Linked DNA regions of Homo sapiens: all the other regions are linked to region 1. The links are contacts of gene promoters, found by promoter capture Hi-C in human tissues and cell types (Jung and others, 2019). All regions are on one chromosome and are shown on one strand. Each heading gives the region's core, a stretch centred on a gene start or on the middle of the fragment in contact. The rest is flanking DNA. Distances are from core to core; before and after follow the strand shown. Region 1 holds the start of NOP14 (NOP14 nucleolar protein). Region 2 overlaps HTT (huntingtin). Region 3 overlaps HTT (huntingtin).

Evidence for each region. The method cuts DNA at HindIII sites, captures the fragments that hold promoters and counts their contacts. A contact is called where the count stands out against the background at its distance.
Region 2: a contact is called between a fragment that was not itself captured here and the fragment with the promoter of NOP14 in region 1, in 2 of the 25 tissues and cell types used here (H1 embryonic stem cells and lymphoblastoid cells).
Region 3: a fragment that was not itself captured here is called in contact with the fragment with the promoter of NOP14 in region 1 in 3 of the 25 tissues and cell types used here (aorta, lymphoblastoid cells and mesendoderm cells).

The regions. Positions count from the first base shown.
Region 1 is chr4:2,961,213-2,965,734 of GRCh38, reverse strand. NOP14 (NOP14 nucleolar protein) reads left to right here and starts at 2,329. Exons shown (of 18, transcript NM_001291978.2): 1 at 2,329-2,610. The coding sequence starts at 2,416. GRK4 (G protein-coupled receptor kinase 4) reads right to left here and starts at 2,164. Exons shown (of 16, transcript NM_182982.3): 1 at 1,613-2,164. The coding sequence starts at 1,664. RefSeq lists silencers at 1,492-1,541, 1,712-2,141 and enhancers at 1,604-2,137, 2,138-2,671, 3,702-3,771. The HindIII fragment of the contact is 12,457 bases long and covers 1-4,522 here.
Region 2 is chr4:3,214,340-3,218,861 of GRCh38, reverse strand. HTT (huntingtin) reads right to left here. Exons shown (of 67, transcript NM_001388492.1): 51 at 3,651-3,752; 52 at 910-1,097. Among named protein-coding and RNA genes, the nearest start is that of MSANTD1, 33 kb to the left of the region's middle. RefSeq lists an enhancer at 4,410-4,522. The HindIII fragment of the contact is 5,430 bases long and covers 430-4,522 here.
Region 3 is chr4:3,090,902-3,095,423 of GRCh38, reverse strand. All of the region lies in intron 2 of HTT (huntingtin), which reads right to left. Among named protein-coding and RNA genes, the nearest start is that of HTT, 18 kb to the right of the region's middle. The HindIII fragment of the contact is 5,503 bases long and covers 1-4,522 here.

The DNA.
Region 1 (4,522 bases), core at 1,080-3,579:
AGTGTGAGTTGGTGCACAAAAATACTGAGAAGATGAAGTCTTTGTTTTAGACTTTTTTAAAGAGATGGTCTTGCTGTGTTTTGCCCAGGCTGGACTCTCCTGGGCCCAAGTGAGCCTTCCACCTCAGCTTCCAGAGTAGCTGGGACTACAAGCGTGGCCGCCACCTTCGGCTCCAGACTGTCCTTTAAATATGCATCGCCGGCTGCTGTGGCATCTTCAGTCGGCATTTACACTGTCCTGGAGCACAGTCCGAGCAGAGCTGCTCCATCACGCAAGGAAATAGAGGAAATCAGCAATTCCGTAAGAGTGACGGGGTGTGAAGAACTACCGTGGCTAGCACAGGGACTTGAGGTCCGAGGCTCTGTCGCCAGCTCTCTTGAGACGCAGGCAAGGGAGACATGAGGTCCGAGACAGAGGATTGCACAGAGGATTGTGGGGGTCTCCCGCTGAAGGGCTGGACCAACTGATGCTTTTGTGGCGGGATGCAGAGGACTAGAGAGACCAGCATGGGTGAAAACAGGAGGATATTTATGTTAAGGTACGCACCAGCTCAGTGGATTCACATCCAAAAAGCTGAGCCTTGAACAAAGACTAAGCAGGATTTTTATAAGCAAACTTACAGAAGCAAAACAAAGGCAGTTAATCATATAATGACAGGTCACATAATCTATAGCATAACTGATGACTTGGCATAACTTGTGGCCTTGCATAGCTGGTGGCCTTGTAGCTGCGTTGAAAGAAAAAACCAAGAACTGGCTAAACACAGATATTTGTCCTCTTTTTTTTTTTTCTTCACCCCTGCTCTGGAAGGGGGGTGTCTGGAGCCTATTCCTTTGGATTCGACTTCTCAAACAGAACAGCGTTATCTTATAACTGTCCTTAAAGTGAGCTTGCTAAGCAAAAGAAAACTTGTTCTTCTTTTCTTTTTAACCCTTGCCTTGCCACATTCTGGGCCTTGGCTTTTTCTTTTCTTGGAGTGAATGAATGCAGTACTTATTACTATTTTTAAATTTCTGCCTCACTTTAATAATGATAAAAGGCTGAATTTTTGCCAACTTGTCCATCTGTGACCACGTCGTGCTAAAGCACACTTGACACACCATAGAGCCTCAGATCAAACCTCAAAACCAAGCAGCTATGTTAAAAATAACATTGCCCTACAATCATTATCGGAAGGTTCTCGCCCAGAGTAGTTCCCAGGCTGCTATTCTTTGTCCCCCTTAAGACCATAAAGACGCCGTTCTTTTTTGGTGGGACAGGTTGTCCAACACAAGCAGGACACTGCCTGCCGCATCCTGAAGCAACACTGTCACCGAGGTCACACCGAGAGGACAGGACAAGGACACAGGGCAAGACTAAGAAGAGCAAAGCGCAGACTTCTCTCATCTGGGCCAGGAGATGGGGACTGGGACCTGGCCCGGGCAGCCTGACCACACTGCACAGACCCCGGCTCCGGCTCCGTGCAGATCTGGGTTCCCCCAGTGGGAGGTGTCGGGGCTCTCCAGGGAAATCGGGGTTCTCCGGGGATGTCGGGTTCCTTCAGGGGGGCCAGGGTTCCCCGGGATTCGGGGTTCTCTGGGGGGGGGGTCGGGGGCGCCTGCCGCGCACCCACCTTGACGCGCTTTCAGCAGCAGCGAGTTGGCCACGATGTTCTCGAGCTCCATGTCCTGGCGCCGCCGCCGCCGGCGGATTCTGCGAGACCGAGGAGACTGAGGAGGCGGAACAGGAGGAGACGCCGCCGCCCCCGTGCATAGCTCGCCGGGCACCACCCTCTCCTCGAGCTCCGGACACGATCCCGGGAGGCTGCTCCGCCGCCACCACTGCCACCAAGGGCGCCGCCGCCGCCGCCTCCGCAGGCCCTCACCAGCAGGGGAGCGGTCGGGGCGAGGGGAGGGGGCAGCCCGACCGCGGCGGGTCCCAGCTGTCACCGCTGCCGCGCTATCGCCCCGGTTCTTCTTGGCCCCATCGCCCTCGCCTCGCGCGCGCAACTCCCTCCTCAGTGCCCTGCCCCCGGGCAGCCCCGAGTCAATGCCGTGGCTCACTTCGGACAGGGGCTCACTGGCAGGGGCGCCCGCCGCGGCCGGCGACCCGCTCCCGGGCGGGCTCGGCGCTAACGGCTTAGCTGAAGAGGGAGCGCCCCTCGCCGCCGCGGCCGGGGCACTACAGCTCCCAGAAGGCCCTGCGCCAAGAGTACACGGCGGGCCGCGGCGCGTGGCCTGCTGGGAGTTGTAGTCGCTGAGCCTATCGGCGAGTAAGCCGAGCCTGCGGGCGCGGTGTTTACTTCTCGCGAGTCGGAGGTGCTGCGCTGTTCTCGCGAGACGAGGAAGCGGTTCCGCGGCCCGGCACGTGTCTTAGGGTAGCGCGCGCCTGTCTCTCTTCGGGTCTCGGGCCCTTGGGCGCAGCGGGGCGCGCGCCATGGCGAAGGCGAAGAAGGTCGGGGCGCGAAGGAAGGCCTCCGGGGCGCCGGCGGGAGCGCGAGGGGGCCCGGCGAAGGCCAACTCCAATCCGTTCGAGGTGAAAGTTAACAGGCAGAAGTTCCAGATCCTGGGCCGGAAGACGCGCCACGACGTGGGACTGCCCGGGGTGTCTCGCGCACGGGCCCTCAGGAAGGTAAGCGGGGGGCGCACGGGGAGCCGGAAGGCAGGATCTGGACCCCACGCTGCTCTCGGCCGGCTGCGTCCTTCTCGGTGCGTCGGTTTCCTCGTTGAGCGGCACAGGCCGTGACAGGCACACGGCACTGACTTGATAGTCCGAAAGCCTCTGCTGTTCTCTGAGCTGGAGTGACCTGGAAACTCTCGCCGTCTTGGAGACCCTGCACTCGTGTTATTTCGGCGACTCCTCCAACCGGGTCAGGCCGAGTCAGTCACTTCGGGCGGCGCCCTGGACCAAGCTGCTTGTTAACCCTTCCGCGTTTACTTTGAGCTCTGCAGGTTTGGGGACGGTGGATAGGGGCTGTGTAGGATGCTGCGTTTGATGTTTCATCGGCTCTCTCCCGAAGCGCGTAACCTTGTTCCTTGGGAAGTAACTCTATGGAAACTCATTGCTTCCTAGTTTTTTTAACTTTTTTTTTTTTAAATTTTCACTGAGGAACATACATTAGCAGGTTGGTGAAAAAATTAAGGCACAGAAAGGACAAGTGCATTTCCTAAGGTCACGCACCTGGTAAGGGCTGGGCATGCATTCACATTTCAATATCTACAAAGCCTTCTTGCTACCCCGAGCGCTTCTGTTTGACCTCGCTTCTAGGTTCGGGGAGATAAAGGTAAATAAGACTTGCCCTTGCCTTCATGAGCTCCTGATCTCTGTTCATCACAGTGTGCAAGCTGGATGGTCTTTGAATCAAAACACATATTATCCTTACTGCGCGAAGACGACAGCCTGTATAATGAATAGGCAAGATAGACTTACAGCTGACTTCGATAGGAGTCCCTCATTACACACCCCCGGGCCGGGGTGGGAGAATAAGGTAGTGTGGTTCCCTAGAAGAGACACATTTGTCTTCACCACTGAAGCCTCAGTTTTCTCATTTCAAAAGTAGAGATGATAGTATACATCCTACCCCTCGTGGTGGTTTGTGAGAATTAAGTAAGATAGCACATAGAGCACACAGCAAGTGTTCTCTAAATACTGTTATTCTTAACCTTCTTGGCTTGTCGTTCGAGTCCCGCACAGTCTGGCTGTTGTCCTTGCTTCGCCTCTTGCAACTCAGTTTGTCCAAAAGGTCTGCCTTACCTCCGAAAGTCTCTAAAGGGCCAGCTCAGGTTCACCACCCAAGCTATGTAACCCAAATAGGACAGGTTGCTCAAACTTCTGGTATTGAGCAGATCCACCTCCCTGCCCTGTGCTGAAGGCCTGGGACGGGGACGGGAATTGCTGCTCCTTTTTGGATCTCCAATGCTTGGCCCTTGGAAGAAACACAAATATTTGAAGAAATCAAAGATGGAACCTGAGTGCCTTAGGAGATCCCGGTCAGGAAAAAGTGTAATAGTTAGGAAAGTCCAAAAATTCTTCTAGAGGGAGTTACAGTCAAGTTTTGCAAGGGGAGTGAGCTGTTCATGGGCCCAGGGTGGGCAGAGGACACACATGCAAAGGCACATTGTCCCGGTATGGTGAAGTGTGGCACTCACAGCTGTCTGAGGGACAGCAGGTCGTCCAGTTGACTCCAAGCTTGATAACGCGTGTAGGGGCCGTGAGGCCGGCGCAGGAGGCCTGGGTCTTTTCATGTGGGTTAGTCCCTTAGAAGTAAACAGGCTGCCTCAGTTGGCTTCTCCCCTCTGGTCAGTTGTAGCACTCTGAGGCACTCAGTCTGGCAGGAAGAGGGCAGCCCCCAGGTGCCAGTCTCAGGACATTGCTTTATAGCTGTGCCTCAGTTTCCTTATTTCTGAAATAATTTATAAAATAAGTTATATTAATGTAGTTCTTAAATCAGTAACTATATTAATATAGTTACTATATATTAATATACTAACTATATTATTAATATAGTTACTATATATTAATATACTAACAATATTAATATATT
Region 2 (4,522 bases), core at 1,895-4,394, 250 kb before region 1:
ACCTGCTGGCTCACACCCTGCCAGGTCGGCCTTTCTTTCCTGCCTGAGGATGCTGCAGGCCCTAAGGAACAGGCCCCATCATCTTATTTCAGCGGGCTGGTGGGAGATGATGCCATTTCACTGGGCAGAAGTCAGTCCCCCTCCATCAACCCTCACTCTCCTCAAGCTAAGCTCCTCATGTTATCTGAAACAAGGGTTCTGATCAATAACACCTACCTTTTTTTTTTTTGAGACGGAGTCTTGCTCTGTTGCCCAGGCTAGAGTGCAGTGGCGCGATCTCGGCTTACTGCAACCTTCGCCTCCTGGGTTCAAGCGATTCTCCTGTCTCAGTCTCCTGAGTAGCTGGGATTACAGGCGTACACCACCACACCTGGCTAATTTTTATATTTTTAGTAGAGATGGGGTTTCACCATGTTGGCCAGGCTGGTCTCGAAATCCTGACCTCAAGTGATCCGCCCACCTTGGCTTCCCAAAGTGCTGGGATTACAGGCATGAGCTACTGCGCCTGGCAATAACACCTACTTTAAACCAATTCTGAAGACAACTGCAAAACTGTGTAGAAAAACATGAATTATCTCCAAAGGAAAATCTCACTCACTCGAGGGGGTGTGGTTTCTGGTCTGCTATTAAGCAAAGTGGTCTAGTTGCTCTAGAATCAGGTCTAACACTAATCTCTTAGGGATGTAGGGCCTCAGTTCATTTTAGAAAACCCAGTATTTCTACTAGCGACCTCCACACGTGGTGCCTGAGGAAAGCAGCCTGGCACCAGAACCACAGTGGGCACCAGAACCACAGCAGGCAGCCTCTGGGCTGCGGGGATTCTGTCCCGCCCTCTCACGTGTGCCCAGCCCAGGGCCTACCGGTGCCTTTCACCGTACTTGGTCTTCTGCAAGGAACGAGCAGACTCACCAGTGGGGGCACACGTGTGTAGCTGTTGACAAGGGGCAGGCGGGCCAGGCTGATGATGATGTTCCTTAGCAATGGCGTGAGAAACGCCGGCACGCCGCTATTCCTTTTATGACCCAAGGCCAACACCGACTGCAGAGACTCCACCATTTCTGCCACCATCTCACAGGCTGCAGTGATATACTTAGGATCTAAACAAGCAACGGTTAAGAGAGGACTTTTTAAAAAACACATCCTATATGCCCAGTGTAGAAAGCATGACCTACAACCAGCTGCTCAAGCTGTAACTGTGGAATCCACTTAGACTCTGAGTTGGCCACTGAAGGCCTGCAGATTCTACCTTCATATCCGCCTATACCATACAATTCTCCCCATTTTCTGCTGGGATTGCTGGAATGGTCCTGAACCTGAGCTCTGGCCTTGGTTCCCAGCCCTCTGGCCCACTCTCTGTGATAAGGCCAGCAGCAGCCTGTGACAGCTGGAAGCCATCCTGTGGCTCCTCAGCCTCAGACTTCCTTTAGGACACCTCCTCTGCCCCTCGTCTTTCTCTGGTCTCCCAGGACCTGTGTCTGTCCCTCAGCTAGTATCAAAGGGCCATGTTGTCATCCTTGCTTCACTGGCTTTCCTAGGTCAGAGTGCTTGAGGGGCTTGGGGCATGGTTCTGGTGGGCATGGAAACTCCCAAGGCAGACGCTGTGGACACTTCACACCCTTGGGAAGATCCACAGAATGGTGTCTTGAGTCTAGAATATCATACCTACTAAAATATGATTTGTTGAGGCAGTGAGTGTGTATTACGTGGCTATTACCCACAGGCCACGAGATTCTACAGTTTGGGCAACTTCCTAGGATAGAGAAGGACTTCTCATTGGACTTAAGCAATTAAGCCCCACGCTAACGAGTTGGCTTTATTAATATTTTTTTTTTTTTTTGAGACGGAGTCTTGCTCTGTCGCCCAGGCTGGAGTGCAGTGGCGGGATCTCGGCTCACTGCAAGCTCCGCCTCCCGGGTTCACGCCATTCTCCTGCCTCAGCCTCCCAAGTAGCTGGGACTACAGGCGCCCGCCACTACGCCCGGCTAATTTTTTGTATTTTTAGTAGAGACGGGGTTTCACCGTTTTAGCTGGGATGGTCTCGATCTCCTGACCTCGTGATCCGCCCGCCTCGGCCTCCCAAAGTGCTGGGATTACAGGCGTGAGCCACCGCGCCCGGCCTATTAATATTTATTGGATGACCTTTAAGAAGTAACGTCCTATCGAGGTGATTAAAAAAACAAAGAAAGCTTCCCACTCTTGCCTAAAGAGGGCCATGGGGAATAAGCATAATCATCTTCACCCAAACAGAACCCACTTCAGGGCCCGTTGCTCTAACTCAAACCGCCAAGATGTCTCAACTGTTTTAAAGCAATGGAAATCTAACTAAAAATCATGATAGCATTTGTTGAGTATTCATAACAAGACTGTCATCCGTTCCAGGTGCTTTACATGGAGGGATTAACTGATTGATTTCAATCCACACGGTTGGCACTATTCTTATCCTCACCACAGAAGCACAGGATCCACAGCCTGAGGTGCCACTCGGCTGGAAGATGCAGAGTAGGGAGGTGGGTGTTTTCATATTCCTTAGGTAGCAACAAGAAATCATGAAATCACAAACTGAAGCCTGAAGGACCCACAGAGGTTTGAGATACAAATTCAGAGAAGTCCTTGGCTGTGCATTAAAATGCCATTGCTTCTGGGTCATTCTCTAATTACAAAACCTTGAACCGGGAACCAGAAGAGAAAAGTACTATGCAGAAGACTAAAGACAGGAAAACTCCATCCACAACCAGGATTGCACAAAAGCGGGGAGAAAAAGCCCAAAAGCACTGGTGCACTCATGATTGAAAAGGCGTGTTTCCTGAGCCACAGAGCATGGAAAAGATGCCTGATGCTCCAGGTAAGCGTGCTGTGTAAAATGTGTGGACAGGCTCCAGGTGAGGCACCCCCACCTCTGTGGGACAGGCAACAGGGGCCATTCCCCACCAGACACTGGGCTAAAGAAGCTGAAGCACCCCAGCAGCCTAGGGGCCCTGGCAAGAACAAAAGACACTTGGCCAAAGAATCTTCCTCCCAACAGGCACTGCCACCATTTTCCTAGTAAAATACCTACTCTAGAATTGGGAGGAAAGTGCATGAAAAGCCGTAGTATATGTCTAAGTCTATAACTGGCTTAAATCACTGGGATTTGGATTTTTTTTTTTTTCTGTAGGAAAAGCGGAATTTTCTTTTAAATATCCACCAAAACAGATGGCTGAACCTGACACTGAGGTTACTGAATACTCATGTGGGAAACATTTATTTATTCATTATCACTCAACAAAAGGTTGTTGCTTGCTGACCAGAGGCCGAGCATTAATTTCTGAGAACACAAAGAAGACAAACCTGTTCCCTGCCCTCAAGGATCTCAGAATAACTGCAGAGTGTGGGAAGTGCGGGGGGAAGGGAGCGCTCCCCCAGTGGCATCCCAGCTGGTCTGTAGGGTCAGAGACAGCCGCATGTGTACGGATAAGGTGTTCACTCGGAAACAAAAGAGCTGGCAAAGCAATGGACTACAGCCTCCCTGACAGCTAGGGAGGAGCAGCAGGACACAGCGGAGCTACGGTGCGCTTCCAGGAGTCCACACTCACCGCGGTGCACGTCTCTGTGAATGATTTTTAAGTCCTGGAGGAACAACATGTAAGAAAAAAATGGGTCCTGAGACTTACTCTGTGTGTTTGGATCTACTTCCTCCTCCTCCTCGCTGATGGCTTTTGGGGTATTTGTCCTTCTTTCTGGACTAAGAAGCTGCTCTCCAGGCTGCACTGCAACTAAAATTACAACAGAACAAAGAGAAGAATTTCTACACACTTCCATCAGTGCTTTTTATTCAACATTTTACATTTGTGCAGCCTCACAAAAGTTGAAAGGGATAGACAGACTAGCCTAGATTCCTTAGAACCAATTTTAGACAAACAGACAATACTAGACTGAGGTACCAATCTCTTGGTTAGTGGTATATGTCTGAAGATTTGAACTTCAGATTTCATTCAGATTTCTAAGTCCCTCGACTGTCTCCTGTTGGCCATCTCTCACCCTGAGGTTATTATGAGACGGCTCAAGATACTATCAAAATCATCACTATAACCTCCAAGAAGTCTGGCTTTTAAGTAGTAATCCCTGGATCTTTGTTTTCAAGTTGGCTACAAATGCACAGATGAAAACAATTATGAAACATGAAAACATCACTCTATAACATTTAATTTAAAAATACAAAGCTTCAAAACGCCCTCTAACATGTAAACTATGACGTCCAATTTTTTAAAAATTGTGGCTAATGACCCTTGTTGAGGATACTGTTCCTTGAAAAGAACAAGCCACTTTTATTTTACAGTACGTTAATATTACAATGCAGTATAAAAACAAACATTTTAACTCTGACAGAAAACAAATAATCTTCTGAATGTAATGTTATTAATCTTATGATCATATAAGACTAAATACATAAAACAGCTAAGACCAAAGATCACAGAGACATAAAGTTTAGAGGTATTTTTGATGAAAGCTGAAACTTCAAAATCTAAATAAAATGACTAAAAAA
Region 3 (4,522 bases), core at 663-3,162, 130 kb before region 1:
CTGCCAAGTGCCTGGGATTGCAGGCACGCACCGCCATGTCTGACTGGTTTTCGTGTTTTTTGGTGGAGACGGGGTTTCGCCGTGTTGGCCGGGCTGGTCTCCAGCTCCTGACTGCAAGTGATCTGCCAGCCTCGGCCTCCCGAGGTGCCGGGATTGCAGACGGAGTCTCGCTCACTCAGTGCTCAGTGTTGCCCAGGCTGGAGTGCAGTGGCGTGATCTCGGGTCACTACAACCTTCACCTCCCAGCCGCCTGCCTTGGCCTCCCAAAGTGCCAAGATTGCGGCCTCTGCCCAGCCGCCACCCCGTCTAGGAAGTGAGGAGCGTTTCTGCCTGGCCGCCCATCGTCTGGGATGTGAGGAGCCCCTCTGCCTGGCTGCCCAGTCTGGGAAGTGAGGAGCGCCTCTTCCCGGCTGTCATCCCATCTAGGAAGTGAGGAGCATCTCTGCCCGGCCGCCCATCGTCTGGGAAGTGGGGAGCACCTCTGCCCCGCCGCCCCGTCTGAGATGTGAAGAGCACCTCTGCCCGGCCGTGACTCCGTCTGGGAACTTAAGAATGTCTCTGCCCCACTGCCACCCCGTCTGGGAGGTGAGGAGCGTCTCTGACCAGCCGCCCCGTCTGAGAAGTGAGGAGCCCCTCCGCCCAGCAGCCGCCCCGTCCGGGAAGTGAGGAGCCCCTCCGCCCGGCAGCCGCTCCGTCCGGGAGGTGGGGGGCAGCCCCCGCCCGGCCAGCCGCCCCGTCCGGGAGGTGGGGGGCAGCCCCCGCCCGGCCACCCGCCCCGTCCGGGAGGTGGGGGGCAGCCCCCGCCCGGCCAGCCGCCCCGTCCGGGAGGTGGTGGGCAGCCCCCGCCCGGCCACCCGCCCCGTCCGGGAGGTGGGGGGCAGCCCCCGCCCAGCCGCCGCCCCGTCTGGGAGGTTGGGGGGCGCCTCTGCCCGGCCGCCCCATCTGGGAAGTGAGGAGCCCCTCTGCCCGGCCGCCACCCCATCTGGGAGGTGTACCCAATAGCTCATTGAGAACAGTCCATGATGACGGTGGCAGTTTTGTCGAATAGAAAAGGAGGAAATGTGGGAAAAGAAAGAGAGATCAGATTGTTACTGTGTCTGCGTAGAAAGAAGTAGACATAGGACACTCCATTTTGTTCTGTACTAAGAAAAATTCTTCTGCCTTGGGATGCTGTTAATCTATAACCTTACCCCCAACCCCGTGCTCTCTGAAACATGTGCTGTGTCCACTAAGGGTTAAATGGATTAAGGGCGGTGCAAGATGTGCTTTGTTAAACAGATGCTTGAAGGCAGCATACTCGTTAAGAGTCATCACCACTCCCTAATCTCAAGTACCCAGGGACACAAACACTGCAGAACGTGGCAGGGCCCTCTGCCTAGGAAAACCAGAGACCTTTGTTTACATGTTTATCTGCTGACCTTCCCTCCACTATTGTCCTATGACCCTGCCAAATCCCCCTCTCCAAGAAACACCCAAGAATGATCAATAAATACTAAAAAAAAAAAAAAAAAAAAAAAACCAACTTAAAGGGGTAAATGATATCTTAAAAAAAAAAAAAAAAAAGGAATTGGCAGCACCACATTCCCTCTGGAGTAGGCTCTAAATGAGAACTGCTCCGTGCCTCTTCCAGCTTTGGTGGCTGCTGCATTCCTTGGCTTATAGCTTCATCACTCCAATTTTCAAGGCCAGCACCTTCAAATCTTTCTGTTCCATCTTCACAGGGCCTTCTCTCTGTGTGTAAAATCTCCCTCTGCCTCCTTTTTATATATATGTGATTGCATTTAGTGCCTACCCAGATCATCCAAGATAGCCCCCTCATCTCAAGATCCTGAATTTAATCACATCATAAAACAATTTTCCATATAAAGTAATATTTACAGGCTCCAGGGATTAGGACTTGATATCTTTTGGGGAAAGAGGGGAGCATTATTCTGCCCAGCGCAAATACATGTCAATTTCTGCTCTTCCAGCCTTTATGCTATTGTCATACAATTCACTTCTACGTGTTACAAACACTGAAATATATTATTTTTGTTGCGAACAATTTAATTAATCTCTTTTTAATATTAGGTAGGGTCAGAGTAACGAAACTTAGTCTGGGGCTAGGTGGGCAAACCCTTCTGAGTACCCTACCTGCTCTATGAGAGCTGAGGTTTTCCACTCCAACTGGTGTGATTAGAAATTCTTCCTGGCCCTGTGTGACTTTCAGCAACTGTTCCTTCTAATCCTTTCAGGTGGCTCTACCTCCAGCCCTGGGTCATTTCCGCACAAGCAAGTGCTCGTCAGTACTCAGCTACACACATGACAGGGTACTGAGAGGGCAGGGTGCAGGTCTCCGGAGCTCCCTCTGCAGCTCTCTTCCCTGGTATTCTTCCATATGGGCTCTCACCACCTTGCATCTCTGCACTCCCAGCTCTGCCTCCTCAACCCAGCAAACCACTGGCTCAGCCTCAGTCTCCTCTCAGTTTTTCCTCTTGCCATGACCAGGCAGTAATGTAAGGAAATTGTAGGGCTCTCCACATTCATTTTCCTGGGATAACTATTCTTCTTTGCCTGATGCCCAATAACTTGAAAACCACTGTTACATATATTTCTTCCGTTTTCAACTATTTCAAGGCAAGAAGATAAATGCTGTCCTTGTTATTCTATCTTAGCCAGAAGCAAAAATCTTTCATTATTTTTTAACTGAATTTTTTAACACATTGTTAATATATTTTCCAGTCACAAATATAAATATCTATTGGTCAGAAGTGGTGGCTCATGCCTGTAATCTCAGCGCTTTGGGAGGCCAAGGTGGGAGGATCACTTGGGCCCAGGAATTCTAGACCAGCCTGGGCAATACAGCAAGATCTCATCTATAAAACATTTAAAAATTAGCCAGGTATAGTAGCACTGCCTAAAGTCCCCCAGGTACTCAAAAGGCTGAGGCAGAAGGATCACTTAAGCCCAGGAGTTCAGGCTGCAGTGGGCTATGATTGTGCAACTGCATCCTGCCTGGGTGACAGAGTAAGATCCTGTCTCTAAAAAAAATTTTTTTAATAAAAAGTAAACAAAATATAAATATCTATGAATGTTAACTAACATTCTCTTGTATAAATGTATCTGGCCAGGCGCAGTGGCTCACACCTGTAATCCCAACACTGGGAGGCCGAGGGGCGCGGATCATGAGGTCAGGAGTTCGAGACCAGTCTGGCCAACACAGTGAAACCCCATCTCTACTAAAAATACAAAAAATTAGCCGGGTGCGGTGGTGTGAGCCTGTAATCCCAGCTACTCAGGAGGCTGAGGCAGGAGAATCACATGAACCCGGGAAGCAGAGGTTGCAGTGAGCCGAGATCGCACCATTGCACTCTGGCCCAGGCGGACAGTGCAAGACTCCATCTCAATAAACACATAAATAAATATATCTTAAATTTTCAATCCCCTTTTAGTGGTAGGCCATTAAGGTTATTTTTAATTTTCTAATGGGATGAAGGGCACTGCACCAATATCATTACACACTTTCCTAGGGGTAAGCACCCTAGAGGTAAAACTGCTAGGTCAGACATATAATAATCTAAAGCTTTATATTTTCCCAAATTGCCTTCTTAGAAGGTTGTATCACCTCTGACAAAAATCTGAATATTCTTAATGTTTGCCAATTTGACAGGTAAAAAAGGTTCTTATTTTTGTTTCAGTTTCAGTCTACTGATTACTAGTGTCCTAATCAGCTTGAGTTTCTATAACAAAATACCACATACAGACTGGGTGGTTTAAACAATAAGCACTTACTCGTCACAGTTCTGGAGGCTGGGAGTCGGAGAACAAGGTGCCGACAGGTCGACAGTGTTTTTCTTAACGATATTTATAACTGCTCTTTACACAGGCTAGTAACCTTTGATCTATATGCTGTCAATACTTTCCCCAAGTTCAATTTACTTTCAATTTTGTTGAAGGTGGATTTTGACATATTGAACTATATTCCACTCAAAACAGTTTTTTCCTTTATAATGTTAACCTTCCTCAAACTAAGATTACATTTTTTAAAGAAATTATTTCATTTTTTCACATTTAGGTAATTAATCTGAACTTTATGTTTGTTTGCAATATGAGGTAGAGATATAATGTTCTCCCAAAGTCAGAGAAATGTATCATTTCCCTCATTTCCCTAATACATATATGTTACACCCATCATAAATTCATACAGATACACACATACACTCTTCTTTCTGTTCTATACCTGTTTTAACATCCAATCACTATTTTAATGTCACATACATTAAGTCTCACCATATTAGTGTTGATTTCTTTTTCTTTTTTCTCTTTTTTCTTGAGACAGAATTTTGCTCTTGTCGCCCAGGCTGGAATGCAGTGGTGCGATCTAGGCTCACCGCAACCTGTACCTCCTGGGTTCAAGCAATTCTCCTGCCTCAGCCTCCCAAGTAGCTGGGACTACAGGCATGCACCACCACACCCAGCTAATTTTTGTATTTTTAGTAGAGGCAGTGTTTCACCGCACTGGTCCAGCTGGTCTCAAACTCTT